Regions from separate parts of the Homo sapiens genome. Here all the other regions are linked to region 2. The links are contacts of gene promoters, found by promoter capture Hi-C in blood cells and fetal thymus (Javierre and others, 2016). All regions are on one chromosome and are shown on one strand. Each heading gives the region's core, a stretch centred on a gene start or on the middle of the fragment in contact. The rest is flanking DNA. Distances are from core to core; before and after follow the strand shown.

Evidence for each region. Contacts are between HindIII fragments. The CHiCAGO score rates a contact against its expected background, and 5 or more counts as called.
Region 1: a fragment that was not itself captured here is called in contact with the fragment with the promoter of SEC24B in region 2 in 5 of 17 cell types (total B cells, naive B cells, non-activated CD4 T cells and 2 more); the score reaches 7.5 in total B cells.
Region 3: a fragment that was not itself captured here is called in contact with the fragment with the promoter of SEC24B in region 2 in 3 of 17 cell types (fetal thymus, non-activated CD4 T cells and total B cells); the score reaches 7.9 in fetal thymus.
Region 4: a fragment that was not itself captured here is called in contact with the fragment with the promoter of SEC24B in region 2 in 1 of 17 cell types (megakaryocytes); the score reaches 6.7 in megakaryocytes.

Annotation. Positions count from the first base shown.
Region 1 is chr4:109,792,650-109,795,438 of GRCh38, reverse strand. All of the region lies in intron 1 of CFI (complement factor I), which reads left to right. Among named protein-coding and RNA genes, the nearest start is that of CFI, 8.0 kb to the left of the region's middle. The HindIII fragment of the contact is 3,666 bases long and covers 1-2,789 here.
Region 2 is chr4:109,432,424-109,435,123 of GRCh38, reverse strand. It overlaps SEC24B (SEC24 homolog B, COPII component), which reads right to left and starts at 1,309. Exons shown (of 24, transcript NM_006323.5): 1 at 1,122-1,309. The coding sequence starts at 1,254. SEC24B-AS1 (SEC24B antisense RNA 1) reads left to right here and starts at 1,307. Exons shown (of 3, transcript NR_039978.1): 1 at 1,307-1,390. RefSeq lists enhancers at 330-479, 556-1,415 and silencers at 297-591, 970-1,239, 1,290-1,679. The HindIII fragment of the contact is 940 bases long and covers 462-1,401 here.
Region 3 is chr4:109,748,716-109,751,605 of GRCh38, reverse strand. CFI (complement factor I) reads left to right here. Exons shown (of 13, transcript NM_000204.5): 9 at 2,004-2,107; 10 at 2,285-2,388. Among named protein-coding and RNA genes, the nearest start is that of PLA2G12A, 20 kb to the right of the region's middle. The HindIII fragment of the contact is 4,038 bases long and covers 1-2,890 here.
Region 4 is chr4:109,924,839-109,927,538 of GRCh38, reverse strand. All of the region lies in intron 1 of EGF (epidermal growth factor), which reads right to left. Among named protein-coding and RNA genes, the nearest start is that of EGF, 13 kb to the right of the region's middle. The HindIII fragment of the contact is 2,248 bases long and covers 218-2,465 here.

The DNA of each region.
Region 1 (2,789 bases), core at 95-2,594, 360 kb before region 2:
AATGTCTGGATGTTTGAAGAAGCAGCCACCTCTTTCAGTCTTCACAGACTGACTTTGGCAGAAAAAGTCTTTCACAAATCAGTCAGCCAGAGATTCTGGGTGGGTCAGCTGGCAAGGCCCGTGTGAACGGCTTGTTGCTTGAGACCATGTGTGGGTGGGCCTGGTGCCTGGGTCTACCAGTGGGCTCGGTGCTGTGGTCCACGGGCAGGCCTGGTGCCACCGTCACTGTGTGGGTAGACAGTCTTGATGCCAGTGCCCAGGAGCAGGGTTGCTCTCTTTTTCCCCCACAAGAGAGCTCATGATCCAAAGGAATCTCTTTCAGCATCGTGTATGCTGTGTAGGGTAAAGGGTAACTCTATAAAGTGAAATTTATTTTCTTATCCTTTCAATTTTTTCTCATATATTTGTTCCACTTGCATGCTGTAACCTCTCACCTTGATCCTGGAGCTCTCATAAAGGTATTTTTATTTGTAGATGGTTGTTACATTGGTGTTTCTGTGGGAAGACAAGTGCTGGGACATTTTGTTCCACCATCTTGCCAATGTCACACGCTTCAACTGTCTTAAATGTGCTCAGAGCTACAGGAAACCCTGATAATAATGTATAAACAAATATAGAATATTAATAAATAAATAGAATTGTTTTGGAGACAGAGTCTTGCTCTGTCACCCAAGCTGGAGTGCAGTGGCACAATCTTGGCTCACTGCAACCTCTGCCTCCCAGGTTCAAGCAATTCTCATGCCTTAGCCCCCTGAATAGCTGGAATTACAGGTGCCCACCACCACACCCAGCTAATTTTTGTATTTTTAGTAAAGATGGGGTTTCACCATGTTGGCCAGGCTGGTTTTGAACTCCTGAACCTCAAGTGATCCACCCACCTCACCCTCCCAAAGTGCTGGGATTACAGGTATGAGCCACCGTGACTGGCCAACAAATAGAAATTTTAAAAAGGAACTAGACAAAACTTCTGGAGTTGAAAAGCACAATAACAAACATGAAAAATTTTCTAATAGGTTTCAGTAGAAGATTTGAGCAGGCAGAAGAAATAGTCAACAAACTTGAAGATCAGTCCATTTAATTAATTATCCAGTATGAGAAGCAGAAAGAAAAAAGGATGACAAGGAATGAACAGAGCCTATGAGACTCGTGTGACACCATAAAGCATACCAAAATATATATAATGGAACCCCAGAAGGAGAAAATAAGAAAGTAAGAGAGAATATATGAAGAAATAATGGCTGAAAAATTTCCACATTTGATCAAATGCATGGCTGTCCACATTCAAAAAGCTCAATGCAATCCAAGAAGGATAAACACAAAAAGGTTCAAACCAAGACACATTATAATCAAATTGTCAAAACCAAGGATGAAGAAAGTCTTGAAAACAACATAGTCATGAGATTCCGTAAGATTAGCAGCAGCTTTCTCATCAGAAACCATGGAGGGCAGATGAAAATTTTATTTGTTGAAAGTAAAAAACTGTCAACCAAGAATTCTGTATCTGGCAAAACTATCCTTCACAAATGAAGGAGAAATGAAGAAATTCACAGATAAATAGAGGCTGAAGGAGTTAGCTACTAATAGACCTGTCCTACAGGAAATGCACTACAAGTAGCTGGGTGTGGTGGCTCATTGCCTATAATCCCAGCACTTTAGGGGAATGAGGCAGGAGGACTGCTTAAGCCCAGGAGTTCAAGACTATCCTGGAAAACACAGCAGGAGCCCATCTCTCTAAAAAATAAAATTAGCTAGGTGTAGTGGCATGTATCTGTAGTCTCAGCTACTCGGGAGGCTGAGGTGGGAGAATCACTTGAGCTCAGGAGTTCAAAACTGCAGTGAGCTCTGACTACACCACTTCATTCAAACCTGGGCAACAGAGTGAGATCATCTCTAAAATAAAATTAAATTAAAATAAAGAAATACAGTGCAAGTCAGAGAACCCTGCATACTGCAGTGAAAGGACATTTGGCAGTTACTTGAAGTAATATGAAGAAATAAAGAACTCCAGTAAAGGTAACTACATAGGTAAATATAAAAGCCAGTATTATATTATTTTGGTTTTGTATCTCTTCTTTTCCTTTCCCACATGAGTTAAAAGACAACTATATAAAACGATTCTAATTCTGTGTTAACAGTGCACAATGTATAAAGATGTAACATGACAATAACAACATAAAGGAATGGATGGAGCAGTATAGGAACAGAGTTTTGTATGCTCTCAAAGCCAAGTTATCAATTCAAACTAGATTACTATAAATTTAATCACTATTAATTGTAATCTCCATAGTACCGAAAAAGAAAATATCTAAAAAATATACACAGAAGGAAATAAAGAGAGAACTGAAATAGTTGAATATGAAAAAATCAACTAAACACAAAAAGGGCAGTAATGGAGAAAATGAGAAACAAAAAAGGTATAAGACATACAATAAACAAATAGCAAATAGAAGAGTAAGTCCTTTCTTATCAGCAATTACTTTAAATGGAAGTGGATTAAATTCTAATATCAAAAGGCAGAGATTGGCAGAATCAGTTTTTTAAAATTATTATCCAACTATATGCTGTCTAAAGAGGCTGCCTTTAGGTCCAAAGAAATAAAGGATAGAAAAGATATTATGTGCAAATAACAATCAAAAAAGAGCTAAAGTGGCTATACTAATACCAGACAAAATAGACCTTAAGTCAAAAACCGTTACAAGAGATAAATTACATGATATATTAATGAAAGGGTCAATTCTTCAGGAATATATAACAATTATGAATATTATACACTAAACAATAGAGCCCCA
Region 2 (2,700 bases), core at 60-2,559:
TCATAAAGTCCAGCAGATTTTCATTAGGAAATTAGATAAAACAGGTCAATCATCTGGAGAGTACTAATGCAGTTTGGTTCTCGTACCAACACAGGACAGAGGTATTTTTCTAAATTCAGTCAATTACTTTCCAAGGTTCTCATCTGACATACTAAGAAGTCTGTAAGGAGAATTCCTCCACCCTTGGCCCCTATCCGCGAACATTCCAAATCTCAGCATTAGGGAATGCATATCCATCATTTTGCAGCCTACTAAAAGCCCACGACCTTAATATGAAAGCGGCTTTCGTGCTGCATTTGGCTGCTGCCTGTATGAAGGCCCTGCCTCAAAGCAGGGCCAACTCTGGCACGTTTTTTCATCTCTGAAAGTGGAGCTAGGAAAAACACCCAGATCTAAAGATGTTCGTTTAAATCCGTTTACATCTGCTCCCTTTCAAACACTACAAGCAAACTCCAAAAGCTTGAGCAGCAGCCGCAGCGGCAATGACAGTTCTTGAGGCCGAACTGGGTCAGGGTTACAGTTACACTTATATAGCATATTTACACCCTTTTGTCTACAAACTTGAGTGCAAACTTAAGTTTCCTCAAGGCAGCGTGTTCGCTGGGCCTCGGGAACCGAAGCAATTTTCCTGAGACAGGAAGGGCACAATCCACCCTGCTGGGTGGCTGCACCAGCCTTCTCCGGACCACGCACTCAGCGGCCTCGGCTTCTGGCCAGCTCTCGCAGCCAAGGGGTCGCTCGGGGCAACTCGCCCGCGTCCAGGCTAGGTAACTGGGTTTTACTACGTGGGCTCCCAGCTTTTCAGTCGCCCCTACTCGCCCGAGGCCGTTTCGGGCCTGGGGTCGCATTACATAAACAGCCACGGCCCCAGCTTTCCCAGGCCGGCCCCCGCCCCCACGCCAGGGGCGTCCCACCCCCGCGCGCCCCGCGCCGTGCCTTCCCTGCCCCCTACCCGCACCCAACCCGGACCCCGCGGCCTCCGCACCGCGCCCGCTCCCGTCCCTCGGGCCGGGCCTGGCCCCGAACGCCCTTCCCGGCCCGGCCCGCCCCGCCCCGATGTGGCCGTGCAGGCCGCCCAGCCGGTGCTAGGCCCCGCGCTCCGCCCGGGCCGCCCGCCTCACCGTTCTGCTGGTGCGGCGCCGGGCCCGCACCCGGGCCCGCGGGCGCTGCGGCTCCTGAGACGGCCGCTCCGCCGAACTTGGGCGGGATCCGGGCGCTGGCGGCCGGGTGAGAGGACCCGGCGGGGGCCGACATGACGGCGCTGGTGGCGACGGCGGCTCCGCTTCAGGGAGGTGGGCGGAGGGAAGGGAAGGCGGGGCCGGAGAGGAGAGAGGAAGAGGAAGGAACGCGCCTGGCGTCACTGAGGGTGTCACCCGGGACCGCGGCTCAGGTACCCAAGCTTCTCCGCGAGTCCAGCGCTGCCACTCGGCGGCCGCCGCGGGCGCGGGGATCCTGGGTCGCTCCGCCTTGACCCACGCGCCCCACGCCCCGGGACTTACACCTGGGGTCGCTCCCCGCACGCGCGGGCCTCGCGCCGGTGCCGCCGCAGCGCCCCCTGCAGGCCGGAGCCGAGCTGGCCCAGGCCTGAGTCTGGCCCGGGGTTCCGTGGCCCCAGTGCCGGCCCCGCGGCTGCTGCTCCGGCCCGGCCAGGTGCCTTCGTGTTGAGGCGAAAGGACTGGGCCTCAGTGGGTGAAGGGACCGGGTGGCCCGCTTCCACCTAGGGCAGAGGCTGGATCGGCCGCGGCGAGGCTGGGCCCAGCATTACTGGGAGGGGAACTTGAGAGCCGCGGGTTGATGTTCGGAGCTCAGGCGACGACTGACCACCCACCCTTCCTCGAAGAGGAACAATGGCTTGGGTTTGGTTTTTAATTTTTGATTCCCCCACCTCCCCTTTCTTGATTCCAAAGGAAATATAGCATTCAAGCGCCATGTCTGTTGGGAATATATAATTCCTTGGCAAAGAAAGAGGAAACATTTCTCTGATAAACACAAGAATCTCAGTAAGAATTGCATTATTGAGAACTTTTCCCACTGATAAAGTAGGGAAGAGGAAGGGGAAAATAGGGTAAGGGAATGCTGGAAGACAAACTTTAAACTTTATCTCCTTTTTTTTTTTTTTTTTTGTCGATTGTTGGTGCATCCTGTTGGTGTTCCGAGAAGTTGTGGCTCAGCTTGCTTTGTCTACATTAGTGGAATCTTTAAGTCTTTCTGGTCTGTCTCAGCATACTCACTGGCAGGCCCTAGACTACATTACCCAAGTCATTTTGCCGTCTTGGAATCCTGAGTATGTCATCACTCTGTATTGGAGATGAGATTGCTCAGAAACACTGAATTCAGAATGGGATCTAGCAAGATGGTATTTCTGGAGCAATAAGTCATTTACTGAATGATTATGCAAAGCATAAATTGCATTGTAGTCCTAGAATAATACAAAGCTTCCCTTTAGTTGTTGCCGTAAATTAATAACTGGCATTTTAATGCACTAAATGAATTTTAGTAGTTAGATTTATATCTTTGACTTCTAGGAATTTCAACTACATTAGAGTTCATATACACAAAAGGGGCAAGCCCTTTTCCACAGCATTTCCAGCTTCTCCACAGAAACCTAGCCCCACATGAGCAAAAGATCACACTCTGTGCTTCATCAAAGAGATTACACAATTACAGATTCCAGCATCTCCCAGGAGTCCTTTGAATTTG
Region 3 (2,890 bases), core at 169-2,668, 320 kb before region 2:
GCCAGACATGGTAGCAGGTGCCTGTAATCCCAGGTGCTCAGGAGGCTGAGGCAGGAGAATCGCTTGAACCCGGGAGGTGGAGGTTGCAGTGAACCAAGATTGTGCCACTGCCCTCCAGCCTGGGCAACAGAGTGAGACTCCATCTCAAAAAAAAAAAAAAAAAAAAAGATTTAGCTCTCGAAGCTATAGATGTTAGTCAAAAGGCATTTTCAACAATGGCCCTTTATTTTTACTCAGAATAACATTCATTTTCAGATACTACCTAAGTTGGTTTCACAGTCCTCAGAGCATGAGATCCCTCTTCCTTCAAAAGTGTAAGCAAAAACTTACCATCACACTCTTCCCCCACCCCAGTTCTTAGGATGGGTGAGACCAAAAAAAACCATCTTCTATCCATGTGTTTCACAGTGGGCAGGTTCACACAAATCAGCCCCCAAAGTCTAAGGAAGCTGAGAGGCCAAACAAAGAGGCTGACATGTCCAGTTCCTTAGAAAGAAACATTTAATAGGGACTTACTAATGGAAGCCAGGTCTGTGTCCTGGACAACAGTGAGACAAGATGGTGGATCCTTGTGCTAGTTCTCTCCCGACTCAGAGATTATATACTGTAGGGGAGGGGCACACAGGCTTCAGAGCTAATGGGTAGGAATTTGCCATAAGGCCAGGATTTATAGTAAGTACATGCTCTTATACAAGGAATAATAGATAAACTGGAAATCTCAGAGGCCTTCCCGGAATTGGGGTTAATCAGAAGCTAACATGGCAGATTAGTATCCAAGATGAAGTTGCTTTAGCCTCCATACAACAACGGCTCTTTCTTGGGGGCCTAACTCCTTTCGGTATGCCCAAAATTATTAACAGCAATATTCATTTTCCTTTCTCATCTGGGGCTAAGAAGCAAGTTTACAAAAATTTTCATGACATGTTAAAATATAGAGAGGAAATAAAGGGATATATTTTACTTTCTTCAGTCATCATAAATTCTTTGGAAAATTCAGGTCATAAACTTTGCTCTACCGTGTTTTCTCATGACAAATGCGCCAGACGTCTGCATGCTCACAGACAGAGGAAGGAAACATTGTCACATGTCAAATGGCTAAAAAACACTCCCCAGCCCGCTAACCCACTTGTCCCGGGGTCACTGGCACATCATCTCTCAGGGTTAATAGGATGATTAAATGAGATAAACTATATACAAAGACTCAGTATGGGGCCTGACATATAGAAAGTACTTAATAAGAGTATCACTATGTTAACATTGATATTAATATAAGAGTTCCATATAAACAGCCTCTAGAAAATAAAAACTATGGCTGGGCGTGGTGGTTCACCCTGTAATCTCAGCACTTTGGGAGGCTGAGGTGGGCAGATCACATTAGGTCAGGAGTTCGAGACCAGCCTGGCCAACATGGTGAAACCCCATCTCTACTAAAAAAACAAAAATTAGCTGGGCGTGGGGGTGGGCGCCTGTAATCCCAGCTACTTGGGAGGCTGAGGCAGGAGAATCCCTTGAACCCGGGAGGCGGAGGTTGCAGTGAGCTGAGATCGTGCCATTGCACTCCAGCCTGGGCACAAGACTGAGACTCCATCTCAAAAAAAAAAGAAAGAAAGAAAAGAAAAGACACAGTTTGCCATGTTGTTAGTTTACCCTGATGATTTCAGAATGTGATTCCCTTCTGAGCTGCCACTGCCACAGTGCCTGGACATGTGGCATCCTTTATCAGCTAGAGGCTGGTAAATGTTTAACCTCTTGGCCAGCCCTTTTCTGCCACTAGTCTATCTTTAGGCAGAACTTCAGAGAATCAAGCCAATTTTAATATCAAGCCAGAATTTTTAAATAAGATGAATAGTATGGTTTAGCATTCAAAATAATTTACTAATGATTCCAGCCTGTCTTGTACTGGCTGTGACTCTCCTGTTTTTGTGGCATAGATAATCAAGAAGTGTGTTAAAAACGCTAATGGGTTCAAGATAATAATGATGTAATCTCTTCCTTTCTTGAAGAAAGAAGACGGATAAAATCATTATTACCTAAACTATCTTGTGGAGTTAAAAACAGAATGCACATTCGAAGGAAACGAATTGTGGGAGGAAAGCGAGCACAACTGGTAAAGTCGCATGAAAAGTCACAATGCAACTGCCCAGAAACAGCCTAAATTTGGGGGGAAAGGGGCAGGAGGATGATGTAATTATAAGAGACTGGGAGTCTTGCCATGGAAATATCTTAGGGCTGTTTGTATCGCTATCTGTTAGAATGGCAGTGACCACACAAATGTCTTTTACAGGGAGACCTCCCATGGCAGGTGGCAATTAAGGATGCCAGTGGAATCACCTGTGGGGGAATTTATATTGGTGGCTGTTGGATTCTGACTGCTGCACATTGTCTCAGGTAAAAGATGTCTTCAGTAAATTTTAGATTTCCCGAAACAATGAAAGTGAGTAATAGAGATTGTGGCAGATGATAAAGCATATCTGAAAAAGGTACTGACAAACTCCACTATATTAATTGCAAAGTATCCTCTGGTATTCGCGACTGGAATTCCAGAGGCTAATCCCGTAGAATCTACTGTGTCCTCCACAGACCAAAATTGCTGATCTCACTGGCAAAGGCAGATCAAACCCATAGCTGCCAAATTACTTCACCTGGCTTATTTGCAAAGTGGGAGAGTGGGTAGGTACTACTTACATTTTGTTCTCCACTGTGGCCTACCTATATTTTCTTTACTGTGTGGCTCAAGAGTCATGTTGCCATACCTAGTTTTGATTACTTGTCACCTAAAATGCAATGACTTTGCATTCCTCTTAGGATAAGAATTGAAACAAAAATTTTAACATGGCCCATGAGGCCCCATGTAATCTGACCTCTGCTAACCTTTGCCAATCTCATCTTG
Region 4 (2,700 bases), core at 92-2,591, 490 kb before region 2:
GTTAGCCAGGATGGTCTCAATCTCCTGACCTCGTGATCCGCCTGCCTCGGCCTCTCAAAGTGCTAGGATTACAGGCATGAGCCACTGCGCCCGGCCTGGACATGTCTTTGGTGGACATCTCCAGTTAGGAATGCCCCACAGTCCCAAAAGTCCCCCCGCATGTTAAAAATTGAGATTACATAACACCTTCTGATTAGTTTGCATTTACTGAAAAGCTTGAATTTGATAAAAAATCTAGTTTAAAGATCAACATGTTTTGATATTTGGTTTTTGACAGCTTTTTTAAACAAAAATAATTTTTCACAATTATGTCTACATCAGATGAAATAAATGCATCATTGGCTGTATTTACAAAATCACAAAATTTACTTTTTAATTACATCCCTCGATTATTCACAAATTTTGTTGAATTAGACCAGCAAATTTCTATCTTTCTAGATTTTAAACAGTAAATGAAAACTAACCAGAAGGTATTGCATTTTACGTTTTTAACAAGTGGATTTAAAAAGACAAAAACTCTGTATTTGGAAGATTTTTTTAAAATAGCTTAGAAAGCTGTTTGTAAATGTTTTAAAAGCGCAGACACAAGAATTTTTAACAGGTGACATATTGGCATTGATTCAACAATAAAATCACATAACAATGGAAACATCTCCAACATCTATCTTCAAACTGCTCTCTTCCTACACAAATTTCTTATAATTAGTGGTCACTTTCTCACTTGTTAAAACATCACCTATAACTTGGATAAAGTTTTGTTGTTTTAGTTACTTTTTGGGTAGCATACTACTGACATCTATCTGTAATCACAAAAATTTTTAAAAAGCCAAAAATTGTTAAACACTTGTCCTTTTCTTTTTCTTCTTTTAAAGACGGTGTCACGGCCGAGTGCAGTGGCTCACGCCAGTAATCCCAGCACTTTGGGAGTCCGAGGCAGGCGGACCACGAGGTCAGGAGATCGAGACCATCCTGGCTAACTCGGTGAAACCCCGTCTCTACTAAAAATACAAAAAAAAATTAGCCGGGTGTGGTGGCGGGCGCCTGTAGTCCCAGCTACTCGGGAGGCTGAGGCAGGAGAATGGCGTGAACCCGAGAGGTGGAGCTTGCAGTGAGACGAGATCGCGCCACTGCACTCCAGCTTGGGCGACAGAGAGAGACTCCGTCTCGGAAAAAAAAAAAAAAAAAAAAGACAGTGTCTCACTCTGTTGCCCAGGCTGGAGTGCAGTAGCACAATCCTAGCTCACTGCAGCCTTGAACTCCTGGGCTCAAGAGATCCTCCCGCCTCAGCCTTCCGAAAAGCCAAGACTACAGTCACATACCACCATGCCCAGCTAAGTTTTTAAGTTATTTGTAGAGATAGGGTCTCCTATGTTGCCTAGGCTGGTCACAAACTCTGGCCTCAAGCAATCCTCCTGCTTGTGACATTTGACGTTTTGTGACATGTGACATTTGACTGTTCTATTAAGTGCTTTGCTTCAAGATACTTTGTGGGAAGTATGTAAGACAAAGATTTTTATGATTACTCCCCATCCAGTACAAAGTATTATAAAGAGACTAGTCTTGTTTTATAGGAATAACTACATCAATGATGTTCCATAATGCTTGATGCAATTCCAGTTTCAACTTCTTTGCCACACGTCTTGCTGTGAAGGCTGTGGTGTTCTCTGTGATCTCACCAAGAATGCTTTTTGGTTGATGTCCTAGTAAATGCAGTGGGTGTACCACTGCTGAATACACTTATACCATTTTTTTCATAGAACATTTTCTGATATATAAAAAAGTCATTTCTGACTTCTGAGAACTTTCACTGAGAAAATTTCTTTTCTGTTGCATTTTTCCCTTACTCTCTCATAGAAAAGAATTACAGTTCTCTGAGCATTTCATTGTTGAGGTAATTATGATAGTGGCTAAGATTACTGGCATTGGAGACGGAGTACTCATGTTGACTCTTTATTGGCTCCAATACTATTGACAGTGTGGCCTTCAGCACATGACTTAACCTCTCCGTGTCTTGGTTTCTTCATCTGCAAAAATAAAATGGGAATAATAGTAATACTTACCTCAGAGATTGTTAAAAAGAATAAGTAAAGTAATTCATGTAAAGTGCTTAGAATCTTGTCTGACACATAGTGAGTTCCCAGTAAATTTTGGCTATTACTTTCTAGAAAACAACCATACGCTGTGATATATTAGAAACACCTTTACTTCCATTCAACAGTATAATTGCTTAGTACTTACTTCATCACATTTTCATTGATTCTTTCTGTACAGTTTTCAGCAGTATTTGTTTACAAAGGAACACATTTTAATTTGTTGTCATGTGGTTTTTCATGTATTATTTTAGCAATATTTTACCACAACAGGAAGCAGGAAGAACAAGTGTTTCACCAATAATATCAGGCTTTTCCTCTTTTGCCGTAATGTAAGAAACCTCAAGAGAGGCTTCTGACTTTTTTCATTAAGCTTAGTAAATAGAGTCTTCTTAACTATCATAACTTTGAACACAACTGTAAAAATTATAAAAAATCATTTTCAGATCCTGGATACTCATTTACAAATATCTTGCTTGTCCTGATGGCTTCATGTTACCACTAGCTAACATCTTCCCAGGTACACTTTACAGTTTTTGTGAGGTTCGTCGCTAATAATAACAATTGTAAATCCATTTTTCAGGCTGTCTTCTTGTTAATTTCTCTTTTT